5 separate regions of the Homo sapiens genome follow, and all the other regions are linked to region 1. Evidence: promoter capture Hi-C in 16 types of primary human blood cells and fetal thymus (Javierre and others, 2016). All regions are on one chromosome and are shown on one strand. Each heading gives the region's core, a stretch centred on a gene start or on the middle of the fragment in contact. The rest is flanking DNA. Distances are from core to core; before and after follow the strand shown. Region 1 holds the start of ENKUR (enkurin, TRPC channel interacting protein). Region 2 overlaps WAC-AS1 (WAC antisense RNA 1). Region 3 overlaps SKIDA1 (SKI/DACH domain containing 1). Region 4 overlaps MLLT10 (MLLT10 histone lysine methyltransferase DOT1L cofactor). Region 5 overlaps MPP7 (MAGUK p55 scaffold protein 7).

Region 1 (2,853 bases), core at 214-2,713:
AAAAACTTAACGTATTCTTATGTAGTGAAATTCAGTAAGAGCCCAAAGTAAGGACCTACACATTCAGTAAAGCCTTTTTATACAGGAACTAAAAGGTTCACCAGGCCATTGTGTTGTTTTAATCACTCCGCCAGCCAACCAGGCAGTGAGAAACCCAGACTCAAGTGTGTTTTCTCTCCTCTCCGGGAAGCTTTATTTCCTTCGGGCAGAGTGGCCTCTGTACCGGTGGTTCAGAGGCATCCATCTTCCTCCCCAAATCCTATTACCAAAATGTCTTTTAAACACTCGGGTAAAAGCGTCTAAATGACTTTCCTACGGCAGGCCCATGTGCATAGATTTACGGGTGACCAGGTGGAACAAAAAGGAATAAAACCGCTTCTCAGAAGACAATTTTCCAACAAGGGACACCAAAAACTGGACAAAAACGTAAAGGCCCACTTAAAAGGCTTCTCCTCTTAGTTTAGGCTGCTCATTTACAAAGAGCAGGTCCACTGGTTCCTGGAGAACGACCTAGAGGAAGAGTCCCGACCCGGGGAAGAGCAGGCGCAGAGCCGACCCGGAGGACCGCCCAAGGGGCGGTCCCGGGAGCAGGGGCGGGAGGGCGAGCGCAGCAGGCGGAGGAGGCCGCGGGCCCCGTGCGCGCACTCACACACGTGGCGGGCAGGGCTGCGCGGCGTTCCGAGGAGCCTCGACCAGAAGCAGCAGGAAAAATGCGCGCAGAGTTGAGATGACCAGCGAGTAGCGGAAAGGGGAAGGGACGGTACGGGGAAAGGCATGCGATGGGAGCGGGCTGGCTTCTAGTTTTCCTTCCTTTCTCCTCCAATAACTCACCAAGGAAATCTCACTGAGAAGACGGGGGAAATGAAAGGAAATGGGGGAGCAGTGTCCACGAGCCGCTAAAGCCTCCACAGGAGACGGAGCACCGTACCTGCAGCTAGCTCCCCGGTCCCGCCCCCGCGCAGTGGACTCTGCGCCTGTGCCTGCGGCGGCCAGCGTGCCTCCGCTCCACGCCCTTCCCCGAGCGGCCTCGCGCAGGGCACGTGACTCTCCTTTCTCACTGTAGCCTATCCGAGCACTCCGATCTCCTCAGGCTCCTCCCCTCCCTCGTCTCCCTGGCGGCGCTGGCCTTGCGTCCTCGTGGTCTCAGCCGCTCGCTCCGCCCACACCGCGATTGGGGCCTGCTCACAAAAACCTTATTGGGTGACGCCTGCGCACCAGCTGCGCTTTGCCGTCTCTACTAGGATTTTTCTTTTTTCCCCAGATACACAGAAATAGAAAAGAGCACAGTTTTTAAGGGGACATCATTTTCACCCCGTTAACTTTCAAAGGCACGTAAAAACAGTGGCTTCCAAATGAGCTTCTCTAGCAGAAGGCGCTGCAGAAAGAGGGAAGAGGGGAGACCTAGTTTGCGGTGCTGCCTGCCACTTCCTCGTTGCCTAGTAACGGTTTCCACGGCAACCGCACAGTCAACGACGCTTAGCAATCCGGAGAGAAATAGGGTGTTTTCTTCCCGAGAGAGGACTGCTAAGAGGGGGTTAAAGGGGGACGATGTGAAGGAGAGAACCTGTGGTCCTTCAGAAGGCGAAGAAGAAAGAAAGGGGAAGCAGTGAAGAAAGGGACGGAGATACTGGGACAGGGAGAAAAAAGTTGTGGAGAGTAGCTTTTAAGGAGTCATTTGGTGGCCATGGATCCAACGTGCTCTTCTGAGTGCATTTATAACCTCATACCCAGTGACTTGAAGGAGCCTCCCCAGCCTCCTAGGTATGTGGATAAGCAAAGACTATCACTTGAAACAAGAATGGGGAATACTCAGTATTAATTAAGCATACATATACTGGAATTTTTAATAATAAATAAAATGTATTTTTGCCTCGATGAAGTAGCCTTGGAGGATAACTTGTTAGAGAAAAGGTCGAAATATCTAGGTATTCAGCATCTCACAGTTTTACAGAGAGGGCAGTCTGGCGCTGTGAGATGACCATTTTATTATATTACACTTAACCTCTTATTAATACGGTATGTGATTATTGTGTAATTTAATTATATGTGATATACAGCATAGTATGAAGTTTCATGTTGAAAAGAAAAAAATCACAATTCTATTATCTTGTTTAAGGATACTTGATGTTTGGTTTCAGGAGTTCGGTGTTGTATTTCTAACTGCACTACTCCCTCTCTAATGGGATAGGATAGGACTTTTCCCCCAAGATTTTTATGAAATATAAATTTACATTTGCTTTTGAGCCTCAGGTTTTTGATCAGTGAAACGAAATATCTACCACTATTAGGCAGTTTCTAAGGACTTTTTCAGATCTAATGGTTTAAATGGAAGGAAGAATTGGTGGATAGATAATGAACCAAAAAATATGTAATTGAGTTGAAATTTTACATAGGTCTTAGAACCTCTTAAATTCTCCAAATCTCAAAAACGTGCAAAGGAAGCACTTCAGTTACTCCCATCTGTAGGGACTTCTTAGAACTTACTTAAATCTGTGGGGAGCAAAGAAAGTAGTGGAGAAAATCTCATTTCTCCTAGGACTTGAAATGTTTCCTGTCTTTTACCATCATCCTTGTCCGTATGCAAGTCAAAACCACATTTGAAAAGGACTGGACTAAAAATCGGGCCTAGCAATTAATTGTCTTTGTGAACTTTAGAATAAAGTTTCATTTGTTTACTGATCTGTGAGATAAATGTACCAGATAATATCCAAGGCCCCTTTTAGATCTAATGGTCAATTATTTTTACTAGTATTAGGGTAATAGCTTCAACAAGTAGGCAGCTTCTTCAATTTTAAGTATCTGGTTTAAATTAGAGCAGTAACTGTATTACATCTCCATTAGCATATCAACATC
Region 2 (2,853 bases), core at 181-2,680, 3.5 Mb before region 1:
CTTGACCTCGTGATCCACCCACCTCAGCCTCCCAAAGTGCTGGGATTACAGGCGTGAGCCACCGCGCTCAGCCCTGCTTTCTCATTCTTTTCCCACCATTCTACCCTCCCTCCCTGTTTTCTCCAGTATACCAAGCATGCCTCTGCCTCAGGACCTTTGCACTGCTGTCCCTTTGCCTGGAATCCTCTTCCCCCTTAGTACTTGCTTGGCTCACACCCTCACTTCTTCAGGTCTCTGCTTAAGTCTTGTCTTGTTTAATTGAGAACTCTACATGATGGCGCCCTACCACCATGTTGCTCCCTTAACCCTGATCTATTTTTCCTAAACCATTTGCCATATATTTTGTTTATTGGTTGTTTCCCACTAGAATGAATGCTTCATGTGGCATACCATAAATATTTGTTGAATTAAAGGATATTTGCCTGCAGAAACGTATACGATAAAAATAGCAAAATTGAATTCTCAAGAGGAAAAAGCTTGGGTTCTATTTCTGTTTGCTTTGTGAAAGAATAAAAGAATTACAAATCCAGTCCTGTTCTCACAAATAAGATGGAGGATAAAGCTAGATTATTCCTAATACAGGCAAAATATTGTAATAGATATTAAAAAATGTACATGAATTTGCATGTATAGCAAATCTTAAAGCAGATTATTTACACTGCTATCTAATGAGAAATATCAAGTTTGCAAATGAGTAAAAGACCCATATTTCAACCTGTAGACTGAATACATACCAACCAATAGAGGGGAAAAACTATCAACTCATAGGTTATATATAGGTTGACCAAGATTTTAATGTGATTCTATTGAAGGAAGAACTGAAGGAAGAACCAAAAAGTGAAATCCTCAAGCCTCTAGTTGTGAAAGGGATTTTTTTTTTTTTTTTGAGACAGAGTCTGACTCTATAGCCAGGCTGGAGTGCAGTGGTGTGATCTCAGCTCCCTGCAGCCTCCACCTCCCGGGTTCAAGCGATTCTCCTGCCTCAGCCTCCCAAGTAGCTGGGACTATGGGTGCGTGCCACCACACCCAGCTAATCTTTGTGTTTTTAGTAGATGGGGTTTCACCATGTTGGCCAGGATGGTCTCGATCTCTTGACCTTGTGACCTGCCACCTCCGCCTCCCAAAGTGCTGGGATTACAGGCGTGAACCACCACGCCTGGCCAAAAGGGACTTTAAAAAGCTTTGTTGCAATTTCTAAAACATCATAAGGATATATTTCCAAAAATTTTCACATACTTCATTTCTATCTCTTTTTTCTCTGTCCTTGCCTTCCTCACAAACTCAGCCTAGTATAGTGATTAAAAGCGTGGGTTTTAGAATCAGTATGACATTGCGTAGAGCTCAGGCTACATTATTGACTACCAACATCACCTTGGGCAAATTACTAGTCTTGAGGATTATCCTGCTTTGTCTCTAAACTTCACTTAATAGGGTATAGTACTGTTTGTGAAAAGTAATTGAAATTGTGTAAATAATTTAGCAGTACCTGGCACATACATGTTTCGCTACTGGTGGTTATTCATTTTGAAAAAATAGTATTGAAGTTCTGCGTATCAAGTCTTAGGAACATAGTGTTAAGCAAAGTCACTTGGGTTTTGCTCTTATGGAGTTTGTATTTTAAGAATAATACATAACTAAAAGGAGATGCTTTGGGATCTCAGATTTGTGATATGAAGCTTTCATTCAATTATGACGAAAAATAAGAAACTGCAACAAAAATTACTATCTAGGAAAGGGGAGTAAACACCAGGACGTCACCATATCAACATATGGTACTAGGCAGGGATGATGTAAATAATGCAATCAACAGATCTTGGGAGAATTACTTACTGACTCAAGATTGGCCATTTTTTAAAGTTCTTCCAAGTAATAGATACTAAAGTTCAGCTAATATTGAGAAGCATACCCTAAACCCTTTACCTGTGTCTGGCGAAACTTCAACCTGAGTTAATCCAACCATTCATTTTCTGAGCACCTCTGAGCAGTTGCATGCTGCTGAAGATTATAAAATAATAGAATATACTGATTCCACTTAAGCCTCATCATCACCAAAATCAAATGACATAGTAATTTAGAAAGTAATAAGTGCTACAGAGAACAGTAGGTAAAGTGTTGGATGGAGGAGTAATGTTTTCAAGTAGAGTGGTTATTGAGCACATGGCGTTTGAGCAAAGATTTGAAGGTGATGAGGTAGCAAGCTATACAGGTGTCTGGAAAGGAATGTTTCTGGCAAAGGGGACAGCAAGAGCAAAGGTCCTGAGGAAAGACTGCCTAATGTGTTCAGAAATAATAAGGAAAGCTCTGTGATTGAAGGGCAGTGACTGAGAGGGAAAATATTAGGAAATGAGGTGAGGTTAAAGAAGTGGGTGGAGGAACAGACTGTGAAGAATCTTATAGGCCATTATAAGAAGATTGGCTTTTATTCTGAGTTAATTGGGAAGCCATTGAAAAGTTATGAGCAGAAAATGACATGGCTACTGTGTTGAAAATATCTGTATTGCAAGGCAAGGAGCAGGGAAACCAGTTAGGATCCTACAGCATTGCCTAAGTGCTTCAGGTTACTGTTTCAAAGCGGAAAGTAAGCTTCTCATCTAAGGCCATTTTCTCTATCTGTCCTTTCTTGCCACCCCCCCTTCAGTTCACCTTATATTATCAATTATCCCTTCCTTTGTATATTCAAACTCTCTTTCATCTGGATTATTTCCACTGATCTTTAAACATAATAAATCCTACCACCAGAAAACCCTTTCTTGACCGTATACTCTTAACTGCTCACTTCAGCCAAACATCTGCTAAGTCTTATTTGTGGTACCTCACTTGTTTCATTCTTTACTCTCGTATTGACATTTTAGG
Region 3 (2,853 bases), core at 150-2,649, 3.5 Mb after region 1:
TATACCCTGTGTCCCAAACTTCTGTTAAAGACAGGGTTTTTAAATGCCTAAGAACAGAGGGATGGGCCCTTTTGGAGACTTACCCTGATTTGTTCAAATGAACCAGAAAGAAAAAAAATTAAAGGAAATATACTAAGTTATCATTTGTTTCTCAATTTAGCCATTTTCTACTCCTTCATTCCCATTTTCCCATCCCAAAAAGCAGAGAAGATGTGATATTAGATAAACTTAGCTAAAGAACTGTTGAGATTTTATTGTCTTATATCCTCAACTAATTCAGCCATATGAGACTTTATTATTATTTTAAACTTTTATCTTGTGAATATTATAGTTACTTTTAGTTAATAGCACAAGGGGCTTTTATTCTTTTAACCAGCATACTTACATTGTTGAGGCCTTTGTGATGTTCCTTACTCTTTTCTGTCTGAATTCACTTTGAACAAAATGTGCCCAGCAATCACTAAAACAAACGTATATGGTGAAGAGCTGGTGGCGGGGGGGGGGGGGGGGGGGGGGGGGTGGCTGTGATCCTCATTTAAATTATGTATGTATGGGTGAAAGCTTGGAAGGAAAAGGATTATTTTAATGCTCTTCAATACTTTAATTATATGACAGTTGTAGTGTAGAAATGCAAAAGTACTCTTAGGTTTTCCTTCAGGTTTTCAAAAGAACTTTCCCCATTAGTAAACTACTCCTGCAAATTGCTATTGCATTTCCCAGCTAACCATTTAAAAGACTGTAAATGCCGTGTGCATTACTTCGCTCCAGAGGAAAGAGGTCAGACTGAATTGCAATGGTATTGAAACATAAAATACAGTGAAAATAAATCAAAATAGAGCATCTAAAGGTAAATCTAGCACATTCATATGGGATAAGTAAAGACAAATATGTTCATATTTTCATGGCCCTTCACTTTAAAAACTGAAAGTGCTGATTTTTTACAATAAATGCAGAAGTAAGTGGACATTAGGAATATATTTCAATCTCTATTTGCTAAAGAGGATTTTCCTTTTGCAAGCAGCTTTGTTTTCAAAGCTAAAGCACTTTTTACAATAGTGTGTAGATTAGGCATTCCTCACTGAGTAAATAATCACATTTAATTAAACTCAATGCATATCATACATGTGCCTAAATTCACAATAATTTCCTGGACCCACAGAGAAGGATATATATATATAAATGTTAATTTGGACATATCTATCTACATATGTACTTGCATTTGAGAAACATAGAAGTTGATATATCTTTTCTTAAAAAAATTTGAATACAGTCCATTATCTGAATTGGGTTCATCTTTGATTGTAGAGTCAGCTGACATGGTCAACAAATTTATCAAAGAAACCCCCTGGCTTTTGAAGAATAGTACTTTATACATCTGGATCTGCACATCAGGCAAAGTAAGTAAATTATTGCATAACTTTAAGCATAATTGATAACAGACACCTTTAATTTTTCATCCCCATTCTTTTGGCCAGCTTTCACATTAATAATCTAAGCCATAAATGTTGGTAGCTATTGATCGAAATCCCCGGTGTGCATGCAAATCCATCTTAAAGTCCCCTGCCTTTCATGTGTGAGCGCTCAGGGGCCTCTGCTAGATCTTTTTATCGGGATCGACCCCCAATGTGCCTGGAGAAGACCCCGGATATGCAACGTGTGCTGATGGCCCAAGAAAGCTGTCTGTCACATTCTGTGTTTGTGTGTGTGTGTGTGTGTGTGTGTGTGTGCATGCACTCATTCAAGCAAGAGTGCTGGAGCCTAACACACACATACACACAAGGATGGGGAAGTTAAAGGAACAAAAGAATGTATTAGACACGAAGAAAGATGTGTAATAGTAGTATTAAAAATGTATAAGTGTAAAGGTGTCTGAGTGTACATATAGAGATACTTGCACAAAGTCTATATAGACACATTTCTCAAATTCCCTAGCCTTTATTTTTCTCTATTTCACCCAACAGATTATGCCCTTAGTTAAAAAAAAATAACTTAATATGCTACTAGTTTTCAAAACCACCTATATTGCCAATATTTTAAAGGTGGAAAGAGAGGAAGAGAGAGGAAAAGAAGGTAGTTTTGAAATAGCTACTAAATCATGTTGCTATGTGTAGGAGGACTAGGAGAGAGAGAGAGAGAGAGGAAATATAAACAGGAATGGAGAACAACTAAAACTACCTGGAGAAAAAAAAAAAAGGATGCTCTAGCCAACCTTTTGTACTGTCTTCTCAAAAGCTTTTTCTGAGTTTACTATTTCTTGGCTGACTCTTTGGTCTAATTCTTAAAGCTGGGGGAGGGGAATGGCGGGGGTGGGGGTGGGAGGGCGAGGGCTGGCAGTACTATATAAGTGCATCAGAAGGAATTTTAAAACGACATTATTGTTGCTGGCAATAGAAAGACTCTGGTCATTCTACTTTTAAAAACAAACACCAGCATCTGCTTTTCCTGGAAACTTCGCTTTCTGCCTAAACCTTGTGCATTTTGTCTCCTGTGAAAGTGAAAGAGAAAAACACGGTGTAATAGATCCAGATGCAAAAGAAAGCCAACTCGCTGGATGGTATTAGCTGTGACGAGGCATTGTTCATTGCTGCCTCTCGGTTACGTTTAAAGCCTGAAATATCACGAGATCCATTCAATGATCCTTCTTTCATTCAAGGGACAAAAATGTAATTTGCTGTAGCTCTGATTTCTTGGATGGAAATGCTAGCCTTAGATTTCAAAGGCAAGAACTAGACATCGCGGTTTGTACATACATTGATTAAGTTGAAGAGCGGCGATTACATCTGTGCTGAGTGCAACAGTAGTTCAGGGGCTGACTTTTCAAATCCCAACCTCCTGAGTTACAGACTCTCTTAA
Region 4 (2,853 bases), core at 196-2,695, 3.5 Mb after region 1:
ATGGCGCTACTTCACTCCGGCCAGGGCGACAGAGCGAGACTGTCTCAAAAATAAAATTAAAAAATTAGCTGGGTGTTAAGTGCTACAGGCCTGTAAGTCCCAGCTACTCAGGAAGCTGCGGCAGGAGGATCTCTTGAGCTCAGGACTTCAAGGCTGCAGTGAGCAATGATTGCGCCACTCCACTCCAGCCTGGGGAACAGAGCAAGACTGTCTCAAAATAATAAAATACAAATAGTTCTGAGACTCAACACATTTTTATAGGTTACTCAACCATTATTTCTTTCTTTTTTTGTGAGACGAGTCTCGCTCTGTCGCCCAGGCTGGAGTGCAGTGGCGCAACCTCAGCTCACTGGAACCTCTGCCTCCCAGGTCCAAGCGATTCTCCTGCCTCAGTCTCCCAAGTGGCTGGCATTACAGGTGCACACCACCACACCCAGCTAATTTTTGTATTTTTAGTAGAGGTGGGGTTTCGCCATGTTGCTCAGGCTGGTCTCAAACTCCTGACCTCAGGTCATCCACCCACTTTGGCCTCCCACAGTGCAAGGATTACAAGCACGAGCCACAGCACCCAGCCCATTATTTCTACCGCTCAAAAATTGCCCAGGCAAACACAAAAGCTTCTGCTTTTGCTATATGCCTAGGTAAAGAAGCTAAAATGTTTGTTCTCTACCTTCAGTCTAATTCCATAATCAACACCAAGGGAAAGGAATTTGCTATAACAAGATGTCTTGGAATAAATAATAAATCAATAAATATAATAAGATTTTAAAAAGGAACTATCATATTTTAAATGGTAGGTTTGCATAACTAATGAAAATAAAATCTATTTCTGATATTTTCAGAAATCCAAATGGGAAAAATGCTTGTGGATACAAAGGATAAACATACCTCCCTCACTGTGTTTTTTGTGAGACAGTCTCTCACTCTGTCACCCAGGCTGGAGTCATGGTTCACTGCAGCCTCAACCTCCCAGGTTCAAGCAATCCTCCTGTCTCAGCTTCCAGAGTAGCTGGGAGTACAGGTGCAAGCCACCACGCCCAACTAATTTTTTTTTTTTTTTGAAACAGTCTCACTCTGTTTGGAGTGCAGGCTGGAGTGCAGTGGCACAATCTTGGCTCACTGCAACCTCTGGCTCCCTCATTCAAGCGATTCTCCCGTCTTAGCCCCCAGAGTAGCTAGACTATAGGCACGCGCTGCCACATCCAGTTAATTTTTTGTATTTTTAGCAGAGATAGGTTTCACCATGTCGGCCAGGCTGGTCTCAAACTCCTGACCCCAAGTGATCCGCCCACCTCAGCCTACCAAAGTGCTGGAATTATAGGCATGAGCCACTGTGCCCAGCCCCAACTAATTTTTAAAATTTTTCTTTTGTAGAGACTAAGTTGACCAGGCTGGTTTCAAACTCCTGGACTCAAGCAATCCTCCTGCCTCGGCTTCCCAAAGTGGTGGGATTACAGGTGTGAGTCACTGCACCCGGCCTACCTCCTTTTTGTTTTTTTTTTTCCTTTCCTGAGAGTCTTGCTCTGTCACCCAGGTTGGAGTGCAATGGCATGATCTCAGCTCACTGCAACCTCCGCCTCCCAGGTTCACGCCATTCTCCTGCCTCAGCCTCCCAAATAGCTGGGATTATAGGGCGTGCCACCACGCCCAGCTAATGTTTGTAATTTGTTTTTCTTTTTTTTGAGACAGAGTTTCACTCTTATTGCCCAAGCTGGAGTGCAATGGCACCATCTCAGCTCACTGCAACCTCTACCTCCCGGGTTCAAGTAATTCTCCTGCTTCAGCCTCCTAAGTAGCTGGGACTACAGGTGCTTGCCACACCCAGCTAATTTTTGTATTTGTAGTAGAGACGGGGTTTCACCATGTTGGCCAGGGTGGTCTCCATCTTTTGACCTCGAGATACTCCCGCCTCGGCCTCCCAAAGTGCTGGGATTACAGGTGTGAACCACTGCACCCGGCACCTCCTTCATTCTTATAAGAGGTTTAGAAAAGTTCTGAAATAAGGTAACCACCCAAGTTAAAAAAAAAAAAAAAAAAAAGATTTTTATGTTGGTTTGCCAAAGGGACTGAATGCCTGAAATCAGTGAGTGTTCGAAGTTAAACTATACACCCAAAGATGTAGTAAAAGGAATATGATAGTCACTAAAATTATTGGGTTTTTTTCCCATTACACAAAACCTAAGAGAATTATCAATGTAACTTCCTTATGTTTCTATTTCCATTATATTTTAACTATGATTAGCCAGTGTAACCTTCAAACTTCTTCAAGCTTTCTTGATTCTGTAACTAGTTAACAAAGCCCAAATATGACTATGTATTTTTGTTTTCAAAGTATCCAAAATATACTCACTTGATTCCATTTGTTTTTCAGTTTTACAAAATCTGTTTAATACTCCAAGTCAATATTTGGCCTAAATTATCTCTTACATTATGATATTTGAAGAAATGACTGACAACCCCACAAACCACAACAGGAGTGCAGTTCCTAATTTCCTAACCTACTCACTAAAGTTTAATGTTTTTGATAAATAGTCCTTACCACTCTGGCTGCTCTCTCCTGAGATTCACATTTCCTGCAAAACCACGGTCCAGTGGGTACTTGAACAATGCCATAGCAAGCTGTTGAAAAATGAAATGTGTTAAAATGTTAAGATTCGAAGAACTATGGAAAAATCAAATACCCTTTCAAAGCCCTATTAATCCACCTGTCACTATTCAAGTAAACTACCTCTTTACAGAGAAGTAAAACAGTTCACATCCTATTTATCACATATACAGCTTACTTAATTAACAAGTAAAAATTTTAAATGCAACTCTTTTGTGTTACCTCATCTAAATAAATCAAGGCTGGGT
Region 5 (2,853 bases), core at 239-2,738, 3.3 Mb before region 1:
AGCATTTAGCGTGAATCTATTTGGGGGCTTTTTCTTAAGTGACAGGTAGACCCAGCCGAGTAACTCAGCTTTGTCTGGGCTGAAGTGGGGAGCGGTGAGGTAGGAATGAGGGGGAGGAGTGTTCGTGAGGAATGCCTGTGCAGGTTTGAAAGGATTGTGGGGGTGGGACCTTGTTTCTGTCACTGTGCCATGGGTGGGAGTAGAATTGTGATTTTTTTCTTTTTCTAATTTTTAAAAGCAATATTCACATTTAAAAAAGGGGGGGCTCTCTAAAAACAGTCTCTGTACTCGAGGCTTTGGGGATGCACCTGCTAGTCAGGCAGTAATAGTTTGCAGGTAAATCCTGGGCTATTAATTACGTAATTTGATTTACTTATAAAGAAGTATCTTGAATTGTTGCTGCCTTTCCTTTGACTTGCTCAATATATTGCTTGTTTACAAGTGAATTGATGAAGGTCACTGAGTTTTAGCGGTAATGTCACAGCGATGGCCCTTGGAGAGTTTTCTATGCTCAGGTTCACTCTGGTTCTATAAAAACAGTATTTCCATTTAATCGTGAAGCTCATAGCACTCTATCAATTATATAGTATGCCATCCTCCTACTCTTCTGAGGCAGGCTGTGCATAGCATGTCCATTTTACAGGTATGTCAACTGAAAGCCCTAGAAATGAAAGGAATCCTGCCCCACTTTACTCCTACTTTATTTTATACCTATAATGGATTTAATCCAAAATCTGGGTAAGATTCCCGCCATCAAGCCAACTTCTGCATACCAATTTGATCCCGTATACACAGGTCAGAGGTGGAGATGGTTATTTTCAAGTAAAGAAATATTATCTGCGAGGTTTTTCTTTCCATTCAGGTTGCTTAGCTAGTTTGAATTTCAGGTGAAAGGTAATTTTCCACACAGGCAAAACAAACAAAAGTTAGGAATGCTGTGTGAAAATCTCTATTTTAAATTTTGGGAAGCTTTCCAAATTAGAGAACCTTATTTGTGTTTGCATCTCTAGCTCAGCATTGAATTTCGGTACCTTTTTTTGAATTGAATAGAAATAATTGATATGCAGAAGGAAAATACTAATGAAGTGTAATGCATTTTGATCATGACTTATGACTTTGTTTCGGGAAGTGTTTACTGTAAATTTATAGACGGATTGAAGAATAATTTCTTAATTAGAATAACTTGACCAAAGGAGTTTGGGCATTAGTGTGGGACAGGCTGAAATGGGTAGTTGGGAGTAGCCGCTTGTATGATGTTAAGGCTTAGGGAATTCTAGAGAATCGTTAGGTTTTGTTAAATTTACTAGTTATCAGGAACATGAAAATGTCTTATGGATTACTGAATGGAACTCTTTTTTTTTTTTTTTCTGAGGTGGAGTCTCACTCTGTTGTCCAGGCTGGAGTGCTGTGGCTCACTGTGATCTCTGCCTCCCTGGTTCAAGTGATTCTCCTGCCTCAGCCTCTTGAGTAGCTGGGACTACAGGCGCATGCCACCACGCCCAGCTATTTTTTTTTTTTTAATATTTTTGTAGAGATGGGGTTTCACTATGTTGGCCAGGCTGGTCTCGAACTCCTGACCTCAAGTGATCTGCCTGCCTTGGCCTCCCAAAGTGCTGGGATTACAGGCGTGAGCCATTGCACCCAGCCTGAATGTAACTGTTCTAATCATGAAGTTATCTCTTGTTTTGTGGCTAATACCTCTGTTTCACATGTACATTTTAACATATTCATGTAACATATAAGGCAACTCTTCTTACACAAGGCTGTCACTCTAGCCCAGCATTTATTTACTTATTTATGTTTTAGTGGCTTTATTTAACTTTTACTCTCCTGTCAAAATTTCTAGCACCCAAGCAAAAATTTCCATAAAGGAACTTTTATCATCTGTTGATTATACAGAAAATGAATCATTTATTCTCATAAGCCCAGCCCTCTTGCATTGTGGGACACTGGAAAGATATTTTGGCTGTTTGTAAAGTATTTGCTTGTATTCTTACCTGAAGCTTTGACTTCTCCCCCTCCCCCAATGGTTTTCAGAGTTTCTGTGACTTTTTTCTTTAAATTAATTATGACACTACCTGACTTCCACTAGATGGTGCACTGGGGGGCGCTTACTGGAGATTTCAAACAGATTTTTGTTTTTCCTTGTTATAAACATTTCACTGACAAAGATACAAAGGTACTGCAGCTGTTTCTCTCCTAATTGCAATTCAGACAAAATTGTAATGAATGACTTAAGTCTTGAGTTTTGGCCAGGCATGGTGGCTCACGCCTGTAATCCCAGCACTTTGGGAGGCCGAGGCGGGCGGATCACAAGGTCAGGAGATTGAGACCATCCTGGCTAACACGGTGAAACCCTGTCTCTACTAAAAAATAGAAAAAATTAGCCGGGCGTGGTGGTGGGCGCCTGTAATCCCAGCTACTCGGGAGGCTGAGGCAGGAGAATTGGCCTGAACCCAAGAGGCAGAGCTTGCAGTAAGCTGAGATCGTGCCACTGCACTCCAGCCTGGGCCACAGAGCGAGACTCCGTCTCAAAAAAAAAAAAAAAAAGTCTTGAATTTTGTTAAATGAGATACATTCGGAAGGAAAGGGTATTCCTTCATTTTGAATTTAAAGTGAAGGAAATTGTTAGTCAGGCTTGCTCTCTGAAGATACTGTGTTTTTTACAAACTGAAGGTTCGTTGGCAACCCTGCAAGTCGATTGGTGCTATTTTTCCAATAGTGTATGTTCATTTTGTGTGTCTCTGTCATATTTTGGTAATTCTCACAATATTGCAAACTTTTCATTGTTATTCTGTCTGTTATGGTGATCTCTGGTCAGTGATCTTTGATGTTACGATTCTAATTGTTTTG

What was found. Contacts are between HindIII fragments. The CHiCAGO score rates a contact against its expected background, and 5 or more counts as called.
Region 2: a fragment that was not itself captured here is called in contact with the fragment with the promoter of ENKUR in region 1 in 1 of 17 cell types (fetal thymus); the score reaches 9.4 in fetal thymus.
Region 3: a contact is called between a fragment that was not itself captured here and the fragment with the promoter of ENKUR in region 1, in 3 of 17 cell types (activated CD4 T cells, naive CD8 T cells and non-activated CD4 T cells). The highest score is 11.9, in activated CD4 T cells.
Region 4: a contact is called between a fragment that was not itself captured here and the fragment with the promoter of ENKUR in region 1, in 2 of 17 cell types (naive CD8 T cells and naive CD4 T cells). The highest score is 6.3, in naive CD8 T cells.
Region 5: a contact is called between a fragment that was not itself captured here and the fragment with the promoter of ENKUR in region 1, in 1 of 17 cell types (fetal thymus). The highest score is 6.5, in fetal thymus.

Annotation. Positions count from the first base shown.
Region 1 is chr10:25,014,768-25,017,620 of GRCh38, reverse strand. It overlaps ENKUR (enkurin, TRPC channel interacting protein), which reads left to right and starts at 1,463. Exons shown (of 6, transcript NM_145010.4): 1 at 1,463-1,761. The coding sequence starts at 1,685. It overlaps THNSL1 (threonine synthase like 1), which reads right to left and starts at 1,009. Exons shown (of 3, transcript NM_024838.5): 1 at 929-1,009. RefSeq lists enhancers at 288-367, 967-1,261, 572-1,334 and silencers at 618-697, 878-1,077, 1,408-1,457. The HindIII fragment of the contact is 2,880 bases long and covers 193-2,853 here.
Region 2 is chr10:28,526,494-28,529,346 of GRCh38, reverse strand. All of the region lies in intron 1 of WAC-AS1 (WAC antisense RNA 1), which reads left to right. Among named protein-coding and RNA genes, the nearest start is that of WAC-AS1, 4.4 kb to the left of the region's middle. The HindIII fragment of the contact is 496 bases long and covers 1,183-1,678 here.
Region 3 is chr10:21,519,933-21,522,785 of GRCh38, reverse strand. SKIDA1 (SKI/DACH domain containing 1) reads left to right here. Exons shown (of 4, transcript NM_207371.4): 3 at 1,306-1,397. Among named protein-coding and RNA genes, the nearest start is that of SKIDA1, 4.3 kb to the left of the region's middle. The HindIII fragment of the contact is 1,671 bases long and covers 564-2,234 here.
Region 4 is chr10:21,538,599-21,541,451 of GRCh38, reverse strand. It overlaps MLLT10 (MLLT10 histone lysine methyltransferase DOT1L cofactor), which reads right to left. Exons shown (of 23, transcript NM_001195626.3): 3 at 2,540-2,619. Among named protein-coding and RNA genes, the nearest start is that of MLLT10, 5.8 kb to the right of the region's middle. The HindIII fragment of the contact is 1,652 bases long and covers 620-2,271 here.
Region 5 is chr10:28,299,464-28,302,316 of GRCh38, reverse strand. The region is part of intron 1 of MPP7 (MAGUK p55 scaffold protein 7); the gene reads left to right. Among named protein-coding and RNA genes, the nearest start is that of MPP7, 2.2 kb to the left of the region's middle. The HindIII fragment of the contact is 1,034 bases long and covers 972-2,005 here.